Regions from separate parts of the Homo sapiens genome. Here all the other regions are linked to region 4. Evidence: promoter capture Hi-C in 16 types of primary human blood cells and fetal thymus (Javierre and others, 2016). All regions are on one chromosome and are shown on one strand. Each heading gives the region's core, a stretch centred on a gene start or on the middle of the fragment in contact. The rest is flanking DNA. Distances are from core to core; before and after follow the strand shown. Region 1 overlaps ETV5 (ETS variant transcription factor 5). Region 2 has its middle 46 kb from the start of TRA2B. Region 3 has its middle 29 kb from the start of TRA2B. Region 4 holds the start of RFC4 (replication factor C subunit 4). Region 5 has its middle 7.8 kb from the start of TRA2B.

Region 1 (2,700 bases), core at 61-2,560, 700 kb after region 4:
AGCGGTTCACCGTCTTCGGAGCGGTTCGGCCCAGCCTTTCGCCCAGGCGCCCAGGCCCGCTGCGCGCGTGCGTGAGCGCGCCTGCGCCGCCGGGGCCGCTGCAAGGGGAGGAGAGAGGCCGCCTCAGGTGAGGGGGCTTTGCGGGGGCAGGGGGGAGATCGGAAGGGGCGTCCGGCCACTGGTCCGACAGGCCCAGCCGGCTAGAGTTCACGGGCTGATTCAGAATCTTCAAAGTCGGGGTGCAGTAGCTGGGGTGACCCCCCCCGGGTTGACCGCCCCCTCCCCCCGCGGCCCGGTCCGGTTTGGTTCCTGGGAGGCGTCGGGCGGGTGCGGCTAACGGTTCCGGAGCGCGGGGAGAGCGGCTTTCCACACGTCGTGGGGGAGGCGCCCCGGAGCGCGAGTGCGGGGGCTCCCGAGTGGATGGGGGATCGCGGAGTTGCGAGGCTTTCACAGTCTCTGGAGATTCGAGAGCCCCGAGGGGACTTGGAGGCTCGCGAGAAGAGACGCTTGGCGGAGCTCCGCAGTTGGGAGGAGGGGGCGGGAAGCAGTTTGAGGGGAATGTCTGAGAGGCGCTGCCCCCCAGAGCACCGGGAGGGGGTAAATGACACAGGCAAGTGCAGCCTGCGGGGGCGGGGGTCGACCAGGAACTTACGCAGGCCTTGCAAGTTTCAGGTGGTGGAAAGTGGACATCCAGTCGCCCTGCTCCCACCCAGCAGGCTGAGGGCGTCCGGCTGTGCGGCGACTCGAGAAAATCGGGGCGCACCGGAACAGCGGCCTGGGGATGGTGGGGATAACACGGGTGTGGAGGGGACAGCACCGAAAGATGCTGCAGCCTCGCAGCGGATTAGGGTTCCGGCCGCATTTTCAGAGGGTGGAGAAAACTCGGGGGGGAACCGAACTCCTGGTCGACGAGGGGGTGCCAGGGAGAGATGTTGGGGGTGGGGGGATTGGAAGCGGTTGGTAGCGCCGGGCGCCGCACCTCGTTTTTATGAATGTGGGTGACTTTATGAATGAAGCGGGTTTCTTTCGTTGGCTCGCTGCTCCCTGCGGCTTTTTTTTTTTTCTTCCCTTTTTGTGAATGAAGCATTGAGCTTTCTTCCTAAAACGCTGGGGTGAGGGGCCTGCGTCGGAGGCTGGGCGTGCGTTGGAAATGGGGGCGGGGGCGCAGCTGAAGGAGTTTTCATGAATGGGGAAGGCTGAGAATTGGGTGGAAGTGTGTCTTGTTTTGTGAATGGGGCCCAGCGCTAGAGATCCAGTTACAGCCTCTACCTGATGTGGCGGCCGCGGCTCGCTCTCCCATTCATAAAACCGGGCCCGCTGCGCGCCACAGGGGAGGGGCCTGGATCGCGCCGCTGCGCTGTGCTAAAGTTTTCCTGGGGGCGCCCGGGGCGCGGGTGGTGGGGGGGCAAAGGAAGTGGTTTAAACTCCTGGATGAACTCGAGCCTTTCCTTCAGGCTTTTAAAAAAATTATACTTGGAATACAATTTTTCTAACCCTGGAATGCCTCTTTTCCGTTCGTTTATGGCAGTTTATTTCTTTTAATTTTTTAGAATTTTTTTTGCTCTTCCGGGTGAAGTATTTCATCATGAGACTGAAAAATATCTCCCCCTCCCGTCTTCTACTGGTTGTCCCCTTCCTCCTAACACATTCACAAAATGTCTTAGGCCATGATTTAATCTGACAGATTTTCCTAAGCGACAGAGCACTCTCTCTTTCATGCCCCTCAACTCACTGCTGAGGTTTCTCAGATTTTGTATACGGTTTGGTGGCATTTGAGAGAGGCGTTATTCTGAACATTTCTTGTGGTGTTTGGACGGGGCACGCAGGCAGGCTGGCGCGAGTGTTTTTCTAGGAAGTTATGAACTGTGTGCTATTTTGCTCCTCTCTTTCCTTTGACTTTGAAAATATCTGATTCCTTGGGCCAAAGTGCTGCGGAGGATGCTGGCTGTGAAGGGTGTCCTTGTATCCTGCCCACTTATGAAAAATTTGATATGCTACACACAGTGTGAAAAACAAATTGGATGGAATTGCTCACCGGGGGAAAAGTTTCCTGTTTAAAATTGTGTATATGTCAAACAAAAGAAGTTGACCTTTAAGCATTTTGAATTGCTTAGAGCTGGAGTGAGTGAAATTAATGTTTTTCCACCTTTTGTTGACTTAACGGTGTTTTTATTTGAAGAATAAAAGTGTTTAGGAAGATGGTACCTCCCTGAAATTGTTACTTTATTCCACTCACGTTAGGAGAAGTTTTCTCCCTTCTAACCCCACCCTTTTTCCCCAGACTCACACACTTACCCGTCCTGAAATGAGTTTCATTTGGGGGTGGGGGGGTATGTCTAGAAAAAAATGATTCCGCTATATGAAACAGCCTAAGTTTTAAAAGACCTTTGGTAGAGATGCATTGTACCACATGCAATGGAATTAGTTTTTTTAATCCATTACTTTTCATAGACATTTTACTCTTTTAGAAGTTGGAGATGTCACAAATATCTCTGTAAGTAACCAGGGAGATATTTGTGACATTACAGATGCTATATCTGTTTAGTCCTCTTTTAAATAAAGAGTTGTGTGTGAAGATAAGTATACCTCTGATCAATTTATTCCAGGAACTATATATAGTGTTTTAACAGTGACCTACAAAATGCTTTTGGAAACACCATGTATGTCAGATCTTTAATTGCCAATAATTTGGAATACTTA
Region 2 (2,700 bases), core at 69-2,568, 820 kb after region 4:
TTAAAGGAATTTTTAAACTTCAATAATTTAATTATCCATTTCTTAAATGCTGAACATTTTGCTTACTTCTATATTTTTGCTCTCATGAAAAAATACTTTCATATAAAATCCTCAAAATTATATTTTTATCTATATTTGTGTTTATTTACTTAAGATGGTTTCTTAGGAGTTTTGCCAAGTAAAGGGTGTGTACATTTTTAATCCTCTTGCAACACTCAGCGGGGCAGCCCGTCAGAAATGCTATAGCAGCCAAGGTGCAGTGGCTCGCGTCTGTAGTCCCAGCACTTTGGGAGGACGAGGCAGGCGGATCATGAAGTCAGGAGTTCAAGACCAGCCTGGCCACCATGGTGAAACCCCGTCTCTACTAAAAATACAAAAATTAGCCAGACGTGGTGGCGGGGCGCCTGTAATCCCAGCTACTCAGGAAGCTGAGGCAGGAGAATCACTTGAACCGGGAGGCGGAGGTTGCAGTGAGCCGAGATCGCGCCACTGCACTCCAGCCTGGGTGACAGAGCAAGACTCTATCTCAAAAAAAAAAGAAAAGAAAGAGAGAGAAAGAGAAGAAAGAAAGAGAGAGAGAGAGAGAAGAAAGAAAGAAAGAAAAAAAAGAGAGAGAGGGAGGGAGGAAGGAAGGAAGGAAGGAAGGAAGGAAGGAAGGAAGGAAGGAAGGAAGGAAGGAAGGAGAAAGAAATGCTATAGCAACTTCTACTCGAGATGGTTTAAAATTCATGTTATTGCCTTCCTGCTCACTCCTATGAGGAGTCCAAGTCAGGACTACATTGCCAGAGTGTTCTGCTCTGTTACTTGGGAGAATGGACAGTGCCTGAGGGCCGTTCAATACGCACTTCCTAACAGTGCCCCAGTTTCCTTTTAGTGAATTGTCTCTGCCCCTTGTGTAGTCTTGATGGGATTTCAGAGTTGCAAAGGTCCCTTGGGTTGGGGAGAGGATGACAAGCAGTGTGGCCAGCGGAGAAGCCAGCAGCAGGAGCACCAGCATCCAGCAAGGCTCGGCCCCGGCTGCCAGGCGGAGAAAGGGCAGGCCCTGTGCTCTGCACTCCTGGAGCAGGGTCTGAGACCCCTCTATGCAGAAGGCTCACCCTTAGCCTGAGGGCCTTCCTCTGCATGGGGCGAGCCAGTGCTGGAGTCTTTGGATAATCCCTTGGTCCTCCCTTTCCTTCCCTTAATCTCAAATCCGGCACGGAGAAGGCACTTCACCCCAGAGAAGGTGACCAGCGCATGTCTGTCGAAATGGCCACGGAGGGTAACCGACAAGGCTTTAAGATGCGCCGTATAACTATCTCCTTTGGCTTTATTCCCCAAAAAAGCCCGGGGAAAAAATCACCTGGGATGAGGCTGGAGCGATCCTTTCTTATGCTGGACTCATACTGCCATCTAGTGGTGGGAGAAGGAAGCTGGGAAGGGACGGGACACCGGGCAGCGGGCGGTTAGAGCAAGATGAACCTGCAGTCCAGGAGGCCAAGGTCAGGCGACACTGGGAACCGCCCAGGGGGCACTTCAGAATTTTGGGAGGCATATGAAGGAGGCAAGGGGAGGAATTATGCTCAACAATAATTATAGCTGTTTTTTTGCCGGGCGCCGTGGCTCATGCCTGTAATTCCAACACTTTGGGAAGCCGAGGAGGGCAGATCACCTAAGGTCAGTAGTTCGAGACCAGCCTGACCAACATGGAGAAACCCTGTCTCCACCAAAAATACAAAATTAGCTGGGCGTGGCAGCGCGCGCCTGCAATCCCAGCTATTCGGGAGGCTGAGACAAGAGAGAATCGCTTGAACCCGGGAGGCGGAGGTTGCAGTGAGCCAAGATTGCACCATTGCACTCCAGCCTGGACAACAAGAGCCTCTGTCTCAAAAAAAAAAAAAAAAAAAAAAAAAAAAGAGAGAGAGAGAGAGAGAGAAGAGAGAATAATTACAGCTGTTTCTTGAGCACTTACTACCTGGCAAAGACTATACAAAGTGCCTCTCATGCTTTCAATCTTTCAGTCCCCCCAGCAGTCCCCAGTGAGGATGGGGAGACCAAGCCTAGAAATCAAGTAACTTGACCAAGTTCACACAACTTGTCAGTGGCAGAGGCAATCAAATCCAGGATTATCTGACTTTGTAGCTTGAATTTCTAGGGTCATTTCTGGAATCACGGAGAGAGATCTTCTGCATCCTTTCTATTCCATCGCCCACACCCCCAACCCTAATCTACTCCTGGACAACAAAGGGTGCTCTTGTTCACTGAGATGCACGGCCCTATTTCCACCTTCTGTGCCTCTCTTGGGTCCCCAAGTCTCTACCTGAACAACTGCAAAGGGAATCCTTTCCCTCCTTTGGCCTGGAGACTGTTGGGCAGGACTGGGAGAGGATAGTGGGTGGAATCTTTTGTCCACTGTCAACAAATATTAAAATGTCTCAGACTAGTTGGAAGTTATTTTCCCTTCTTTGTTATGTGAGATTGAGGTCCCTAAAGTGCACAGTCTCATTTCAGATCAGCCACTGCAAAGTTTGGTTCTAAATCCTGGAAGGACTTCTCATGCTTTCCAGGAACAATTGTTGGGACTGATCCATGACAGCCCTGGCCTGTCTCAGTCTTCTTTTTTTTCTTTTCTTTCTTCCTTTTTTTTTTTTAAGAGATGAGGAAGTCCGGGCATCGTGGCTCATGCCTGTAATCCCAACACTTTGGGAGGCTGAGGCAGGC
Region 3 (2,736 bases), core at 145-2,644, 900 kb after region 4:
AGAAATGCAAATCAAAACCACAATGAGATACCATCTCACACCAGTTAGAATGGCGATCTTTAAAAAGTCAGGAAACAAAGGTGCTGAAGAGGATGTGGAGAAATAGGAACACTTTTACACTGTTGGTGGGACTGTAAACTAGTTCAACCATTGTGGAAGAGTGTGGTAATTCCTCAAGGATCTAGAATTAGAAATACCATTTGACCCCGCCATCCCATTACTGTATATACCCAAAGGATTATAAATCATGCTGCTATAAAGACACATGTACATGTATGTTTATTGTAGTACTATTCACAACAGCAAAGACTTGGAACCAACCCAAATGTCCATCAATGATAGACTGGATTAAGAAAATGTGGCACATATACACCATGGAATACTATGCAGCCATAAAAACGGATGAGTTCATGTTCTCTGTAGGGACATGCATGAAGCTAGAAACCATCATTCTCAGCAAACTATTGCAAGGACAAAAAACCACCACACGTTCTCACTCATAGGTGGGAACTGAACAATGAGAACACTTGGACACAGGAAGGGGAACATCATACACCGGGGCCTGTCATGGGGTTGGGGGAGGGTGGAGGGGTAGCATTAGGAGATATACGTAATGTAAATGAGTTAATGGATGCAGTACACCAACATGGAACATATATACATATGTAACAAACCTGCACGTTGTGCACATGTACCCTAGAACTTAAATAAATAAAAAAAAAATACACTTGTCTAGAAGACAGGAGACTTCATTATATTACTCTCTTTACAATTAATTAATGTAAGACCGTTTAAAATATGCCTAATTTTCCAGGCATTGGTTTGCTTTTCTATAAAATGGGAGGATAGAAAATAACTTCCAAATTCTTACAAATCTAAGAATCTTTGGATTTAGATATGGAAATTCATAATTATTGAGATGGAGTCTCGTTACTATGCAATATAGCAAAGTTGGAAATAAATTCTAAATTTTATTTCATTTATATTGATCAATAAATTGTTACATTTCAAAAAAATGCAAGAGGCATTTGGAAAAAAGGACAAATAGGAATTTGTGAAAGACTATGGGAGTTAATGGGAAAGGAAGAGTTGCTGACTGCGAGCCTGGGCTCCTGGCCGCTCGCAGTGGCCCTGTTAAAAATGAGAAGAAAGAAAGAAGTTGGTTTGAGGGAGAAGATTTGCCCTTGACTTTACCTTTGTTGAGCTTTATAGAAGTTACTGGTGATAGCTGAAGCCTCTAATCCCAGTACTTTGGAAGGCTGAGGCAGGCGGATCACTTGAGGCCAGGAGTTCGAGACCAGCCTGGCCAACATGGTGAAACCCCATCTCTACTAAAGTACAAAAAAGAAACCTAGCAGGGCGTGGTGGTGCGTGCCTGTAGTCCCAGCTACTCGGGAGGCTGAGGCAGGAGAATCACTTGAACCTGGGAGGCGGGGTTTGCAGTGAGCCAGATCATGCCACTGCACCCCAGCCTGGGAGACAGAGCAAGATTCTGTCTCAAAAAAATAATAAATAAGTAAAAGTTAAACATAGAATTACCATACAACTCAGCAATTCTACTCCTGGGTTTATACCCAAAAAATCGTAAACATAGGTTCACACAAAAATTTGTACGTGGATGTTCATAGCAGCATTATTAGTGATAGCCGAAAAACAGAAACACCCCAAATGTTCCTTCAGCTGATGAATTGATTAATAAAATGTGATATATCCGGGCCGGGCGCGGTGGCTCACGCCCGTAATCACAGCACTTTAGGAGGATGAGACGGGCGGATCACAAGGCCAGGAGATCGAGACCATCCTGGCTAACATGGTGAAACCCCGTCTCTACTAAAAATACAGAAAATTAGCCGGGTGCGGTGGCGGGCGCCTGTAGTCCCAGCTACTCCAAAGGCTGAGGCAGGAGAATGGCGTGAACCTGGGAGGCAGAGCTTGCAGTGAGCCGAGATCGCGCCACTGCACTCCGGACTGGGCGACAGAGCGAGACTCCGTCTCAATAAATAAATAAATAAATAAATAAATAAATAAATAAAGTGATATATCTATACAATGGAATATTATTTGGCAATAAAAAGGAATGAAGTAATGATACATGCTGACATGAATGAACCTTCAAAACATTTTAAGTGAAAGGAACCAGTCACAAAAGACCATATATTACATGATTTAATATATATGAAATATGCAGAACAGAGAGTTCTATGCAGAGAAAGTAGACTAGTAGTTTCCTAGGCACGGCAATTTGCAGGAGGAAGGGGAAGTGACTGCTAATAGGTATGGCAGTCACTTTGGGCCTGAGGAAAAATATTCTAAAACTGATTGTAGTGATGGTCACTTAACTTTGTAAATATACTAAAAGCGATGGAATTTTGCACTTTAAGCAGACGGATTTCATCTTAATAAAGCTGTTAAGCACTTCCAGTCACCTAAAAACACTATTAAGAGAGTAGGGCCAGGAGTGGTGGCTGACACCTGTAATCCTAGCACTTTGGAAGGCTGAGGCAGGAGGATCCCTTGAGCCCAGTAGTTCGAGACCAGCCTGGGCAATATAAGGAAACTCTGTCTTTTAAAAGAAAGAAATAGGCTGGGCGTGGTGGCTCATGCCTGCAATCCCAGCACTTTGGGAGGCCGAGGTGGGCGGATCACTTGAGATCAGGAGTTCAAGACCACCCTGGCCAACATGGTGAAACCCTGTCTCTACTAAAAATACAAAAATTAGCCGGGTGTGGTGGTATA
Region 4 (2,700 bases), core at 89-2,588:
CATAACATCCCCCTCTCTGTGGTTGTGCTGTTCCTTCAGGTAGCAAATGGATACCATCTATTTTCATAGATCTTGTTTTATCAACTGTATTGTGGTATAATTTACATACAATAAAATATACAAGCATTAAGTATACAGTTTGATAAGTTATGGTAATGTAAACCGGTGACCAGATAGATAACCTGTGTGTTTTTTATACTGTCCAGAGATTGTATCAGACTCTGTGGAAATTACAAAGTAGCATAAAGCATCCTTACTTTGGTTAAACCCTTGATTGGGTTAGGCCTGGGATGTAAGTTCTCACAGCCCCCTACTTCCTCTGCATAACCACACATCACATTGTCTGTCACTCTCCTAGTCTGTAAAGCTACTTGAGGGCATCTCGAGCGTTTTCCCTGCTGTATCTGCAGGCATCTAACACAGTGCGTGGACATTCTGTAAGCATTTGTTGCAAGATAAATGAAAAAAACGTACAAAGTTAACAATGGATATCATGCTGAGTTTGTGCCAAACAAAACAGTCATTTGAAGAAGACCCGGAACAACCTTATGGGTTAGTAATTAGTAAAGACCAGTAGAGAAGGTGGCCTTTGAGAAGGGTCAGGTTTCAATAGGATTAAGGAGCATTTCAGAGCTAAACCAAGTACTTGGAAGAGATAAAAGCAGTGGGCTCAGGCACCAGCCTAGCCCACTGTGCATGAAGCTTGGTGGGGCTAAACATGATTATCAGTCCTTTAACTTTTATTGAACGCCTTCACTTCCAGATTTCTAAGTGGGGCTCAGGAATTATAATAGATGTCCACAGCTGCATGGTCTTCTCTCTCCACAACACGCAGACACTATTAGAAGTAAAAGCCACGTGTCCTCAAGAGGGCAAGGCAAAGCATCTTCAGATGTCTCTGCCCTTAAAGCACACGCGTTCTGCTCTGCGACGAAGCAGGACAAGGAGGACAGGGACCTGCACCTCCGGAGGCCCGCACCTACGAAGATAGCGGGCTCGGGACCTTCGGTGGACCGGCAGGGTTCCAGAGGCCCGCGCGCCGCCGCCCCGCCCTCATTGCTGAGCCTGCCAGGTAAGCAGCCCCAGCGCCGTGCCCGCGCGACCTCTACTCCTTCCGGGAGGGTCGCGCTCACGTCTGAAGTGGGAGCAATGCACCGGGACAGGGACACCTCCTAGGCCATGCCTGTTCCAGTCCAGTTCTGCCTGAAAGTCCGGCTGGCTCATCACCTGCCTAAATAAAACCGTATACGGGCAAACTCCCTCCGCAAGCAGCGCGCCCCAGCACCGGAAGTGACGCGTTACGTGCCCGCGTATTCCTACCGGCGTATTCCCGCCCTGCTTTTCGCCCGCCGTTCCGTGGCGGGAACTGAGGCGACTGTGGGGACATCAGTGATCGTAAGTCTCCTGGGCCCGTTATTCTCAGATTAGGTGACGGAGCTAAGACTTCGAGACCATCTCGTCCTTTTTGTATCGCGGAAACCTGAGGAACGAGCCGGCGGCGGTGACCTGCACGAGAAGCCAGGCTAACTGGTAACCTGCTGGAGGAACTGCAAGCCCGCTTCGCCTTCCCCACTCCTGCCCTTGATGCCCCTTGTGAGGTCTTCCACCTCCTTCGGGGCCCCAGCCTAGTGGCCCTTTCATGCCCTGGCCGCGCCCTTTGGTGAAATGGTGGTTCCGGACAGCATCTTGCAGGCCCCGGCTTTGGGCTGTATTAATGTTTAACAGCCCGAGGCAGGGATGGACTAATCCAGTAACGTTATAAAAACCTTGGCTGCTAACAGATATTAAAAATTTATTTTATTGAGCATATCCCCATATGCCAAGCAAGGAACTATGTATTTGCATACATTCTTTTATTTAACTCAGTTGTCCTGTGGAATAGGCCTTAGCTCCTTTAACAGAAAAGGAAACCGGGTATCATAGATGGTAATTCATTCACCAAATATTACGGAGCATCTACCATGTACCAGGCACTGTTCTAGGCACCAGGGCATGTAGCAGTGAAAAAAATAGAATTAACCGGGGACTTTTCAGGCGAGCTAATGATGCTTTTTATCCCTGAAAACAGCCTGGAAGAATGTTTACCTGCATGTTAGAAATAGTTACCTTCTGGGTGGGATTTTGTATTACTTTTTTAAATCTCTCATGCTTTTATGCATTGTTTTGATTTCTTCAAGTGAGTGTGTTATGAGAAAAACAGCTGTTTCTATTTTAACAACAGAGTCCCCCACCTTCCCTTCCCCACAGAAAGTCTCTGAAGGTAGGTAAGCATTGACTCTGCCATGAAAATAGGTCCCTGGCCAGGCGAGATGGCTCACACCTGTAATCCCAGCACTTTGGGAGGCCGGGGCAGGAGGATTACTTGAGCCCAGGAGTTCCAGACCAGCCTAGGCAACATGGTGAAACCCTGTCTCTACCAAAAATTTAAAAAATTAGCCGGGGGTGGTGGCACGCACCTGTAGTCCTAGCTACTGGGGAGGCTGAAGTGGGAAGATGACAGGAGCCTGGGATGTCAAGGCTGCAGTGAACCATGATTCCGCCACTGCACTCCATCCTAGGCAAAAGAGTGAGACCCTGTCTCAAAAACAACAACAACAAAAAAAGGTCTTTGAGTTCTGACCCAAGGAAAGGAGTGAAGGTTCTCATTTGTGGTGCAAGCAGAGCACCTTTAATTGCCGAAGAGTCCATTTCAGGGTCTGA
Region 5 (2,700 bases), core at 1-2,500, 860 kb after region 4:
CCCATTCTCCATCCAATGGGGAATGTAATCTTATAAAAATAAAAACTGAGTCAAGACATTCCCCCTAATTAAAACATTTCGATAGCTTCCCATTGCATTTATTTAATTATTTATTTATTTTTGAGGCAAAGTCTCACTCTATTGCCCAGGCTGGAGTGCAGTGGCACGATCTTGGCTAACTGCAACCTCTGCCTCCCGGGTTCAAGAGATTCTCCTGCCTCAGCTTTCCGAGTAGCTGGGGTTACAGGTGCCTGCCACCACGCCTGGCTAATTTTTGTATTTTTTTAATAGAGGCGGGGTTTCGCCATGTTGGCCAGGCTGGTCTCGAACTCCTGACTTCAAGTGACCCATCCACCTGCCTTGGCCTCCCAAAGTGCTGGAATTACAGGTGTGAACCACCGTGCCCAGCCCCCACTGCACTTAAATAACATCTGACATCCTTTCCATGACCTGCATAATCACTGCTGACTTATTATGAGTTAGACATTGTTCTAAGGGCTTTTTATGTAAAATAGTAATTCTTTGGATCCTGACAACAAGCATAGGAAGTAGGTATTATTATCATTCCTATTTCACAGATGAAGCCACAGAGGCACAGAGGTTACACTTGCCCAGGGTCTCTCAGAGAGCTACTGTGGAGGCAGGAAACAACCCCAGGAAGTCCAAGCCCTGCTCTCTGTACCACAGTCTCTGGTCCTCAGATGGACCCACTGGGATCCCATGGTTGGGTCTCTCTGTTCCTGGAACCCGACAAACATCCTCACCCCAGTGCCTTTGTGACCTTGCTAATCCCTTCCCAGGAACACAGTTTTCTCTGCTTTTTAAATGGCTGGCTTCTCACCCTCCAGGTCTCCATAAATAGGAATGGTATAATAGGTTATGGCACATATTTGCAACGGAATACCATACAACTGTTTTAAAATATGAGATAAATCTATGTGTACTGACGTGGAACAATATTTAGCATATTTTAGATTGCTAAGTGAAAAAGGCAAGTTACAGAATACCATGTTAAAATTTAAAAATATGAGCGGGGCATGGTGGCTCATGCCTGCAATCCCAGCACTTTGGGATGCTGAGGCGGGTGGGTCACCTGAAGTCAGGAGTTCGAGACAACAGCCTGAGCAACAGAGTGAGACTCTGTCTCAAAAAAATAATAAATAAAAATTAAAAAATAAAAAATATGTATAGCATGATTCCATTTGTTTATGAAAAGAAAATTTTAAGGCTGGGCTCAGTGGCTCATGCCTGTAATCCCAGCACTTTGGGAGGCCGAGGCGGGTGGATCGTGAGGTCAGGAGATCGAGACCATCCTGGCTAGCATGGTGAAACCCCATCTCTACCAAAAATACAAAAAATTAGCCGGGTGTGGTGGCAGGCACCTGTAGTCCCAGCTACTTGGGAGGCTGAGGCAGGAGAATGGCATGAACCCGGGAGGCGGAGCTTGCAGTGAGCCGAGATCTTGCCACTGCACTCCAGCCTGGGAGACAGCAAGACTCCGTCTCAAAATAAATAAATAAATAATAAAAAAATAAAAATAAAAATTTAAATTTATCTATCTAAGGTCTAGAAGGTTATGCACTACATTTTTTAACTAGGGTGACCTCTGAGGAGCGAGACTGGGAAAGAGAGGATAGAAAATAGGGTTTGCATTTTTCACTTTGCACATTTCTTATTGTTTGAATTTTTATCCCCACCCTATATTAGTAACATAATAATAATTCTAAGACAAAACATTTTCTTCATATGTTTAATGTTTGAGCTCTAAATTTTGTTATTTGGGTATTCTAATTTTTATTCTCTTCCTCTCTTTCCCAGATTTATCTTAAGTATCTGGAGAAAGTCTTTTATTTCATTCTTCTCTCTCTCTCTTTTTTTTTTTATTTTTTTGAGAAGGAGTCTTGCTTTGTCGCCCAGGCCGGACTGCAGTGGCGCTATCTCGGCTCACTGCAAGCTCCGCCTCCCGGGTTCATGCCATTCTCCTGCCTCAGCCTCCTGAGTAGCTGGGATTACAGGTGCCCGCCACGGCGCCCGGCTAATTTTTTGTATTTTTAGTAGAGACGGGGTTTCACCGAGTTAGCCAAGATGGTCTCGATCTCCTGACCTCATGATCCGCCCACCTCGGCCTCCCAAAGTGCTGGGATTACAGGTGTGAGCCACCGCACCCGGCCTCTCTCTCTTTTTTTTTTTTTTTTTTTTTTTTTTTGAGACAGAGTTTCACTCTTGTCACCCAGGCCGGAGTGTAATGGTACGATGTCTGCTCACTGCAACCTCTGCCTCCCAGGTTCAAGTGATTCTCATGCCTTGGCCTCCCGAGTAGCTGGGATTACAGGCATGCACCACCACGCCCGGCTAATTTTTGTATTTTTTAGTAAAGACAGTGTTTCACAATGTTAGCCAGACTGGTCTCGAACTCCTGACCTTAGGTGATCCACCTTTTTTAGGGTTCAGAACATTGAAAGTGATTGGTTGTTTCAACTCAATTATCTACAATACGTAGCCATAGTCAGCATAGTAACTCAATGTTGTTCTTAATTTCCACTCAGTCCTAAGCTGGTTCGTGAAGACCTGCCTTAATGAAGTCTCAAAGTTTTTGACTTCCACATTCATACTTCCAAGTAGTGAGTGGGTGTTCAGTCACTTTTTATACAGAGATGCATTAGTTCTCTGAGAGCACTCCTACACCACTCCCTTGAAGAT

Evidence for each region. Contacts are between HindIII fragments. The CHiCAGO score rates a contact against its expected background, and 5 or more counts as called.
Region 1: a fragment that was not itself captured here is called in contact with the fragment with the promoter of RFC4 in region 4 in 3 of 17 cell types (endothelial precursors, fetal thymus and erythroblasts); the score reaches 8.0 in endothelial precursors.
Region 2: a contact is called between a fragment that was not itself captured here and the fragment with the promoter of RFC4 in region 4, in 3 of 17 cell types (total B cells, activated CD4 T cells and naive B cells). The highest score is 6.9, in total B cells.
Region 3: a contact is called between a fragment that was not itself captured here and the fragment with the promoter of RFC4 in region 4, in 2 of 17 cell types (naive CD8 T cells and total CD4 T cells). The highest score is 8.7, in naive CD8 T cells.
Region 5: a contact is called between a fragment that was not itself captured here and the fragment with the promoter of RFC4 in region 4, in 11 of 17 cell types (naive CD8 T cells, non-activated CD4 T cells, total B cells and 8 more). The highest score is 9.5, in naive CD8 T cells.

The regions. Positions count from the first base shown.
Region 1 is chr3:186,106,367-186,109,066 of GRCh38, reverse strand. ETV5 (ETS variant transcription factor 5) reads left to right here. Exons shown (of 13, transcript NM_004454.3): 1 at 1-127. Among named protein-coding and RNA genes, the nearest start is that of ETV5, 1.4 kb to the left of the region's middle. RefSeq lists silencers at 1-295, 326-425 and enhancers at 1-437, 1,196-1,255. The HindIII fragment of the contact is 3,357 bases long and covers 1-2,700 here.
Region 2 is chr3:185,982,393-185,985,092 of GRCh38, reverse strand. No RefSeq gene overlaps it. Among named protein-coding and RNA genes, the nearest start is that of TRA2B, 46 kb to the right of the region's middle. RefSeq lists an enhancer at 1,028-1,549. The HindIII fragment of the contact is 7,977 bases long and covers 1-2,700 here.
Region 3 is chr3:185,907,769-185,910,504 of GRCh38, reverse strand. No RefSeq gene overlaps it. Among named protein-coding and RNA genes, the nearest start is that of TRA2B, 29 kb to the left of the region's middle. The HindIII fragment of the contact is 3,858 bases long and covers 1-2,736 here.
Region 4 is chr3:186,805,120-186,807,819 of GRCh38, reverse strand. RFC4 (replication factor C subunit 4) reads left to right here and starts at 1,338. Exons shown (of 11, transcript NM_002916.5): 1 at 1,338-1,530. RefSeq lists enhancers at 559-1,170, 1,171-1,782. The HindIII fragment of the contact is 2,364 bases long and covers 705-2,700 here.
Region 5 is chr3:185,944,435-185,947,134 of GRCh38, reverse strand. No RefSeq gene overlaps it. Among named protein-coding and RNA genes, the nearest start is that of TRA2B, 7.8 kb to the right of the region's middle. The HindIII fragment of the contact is 4,953 bases long and covers 1-2,700 here.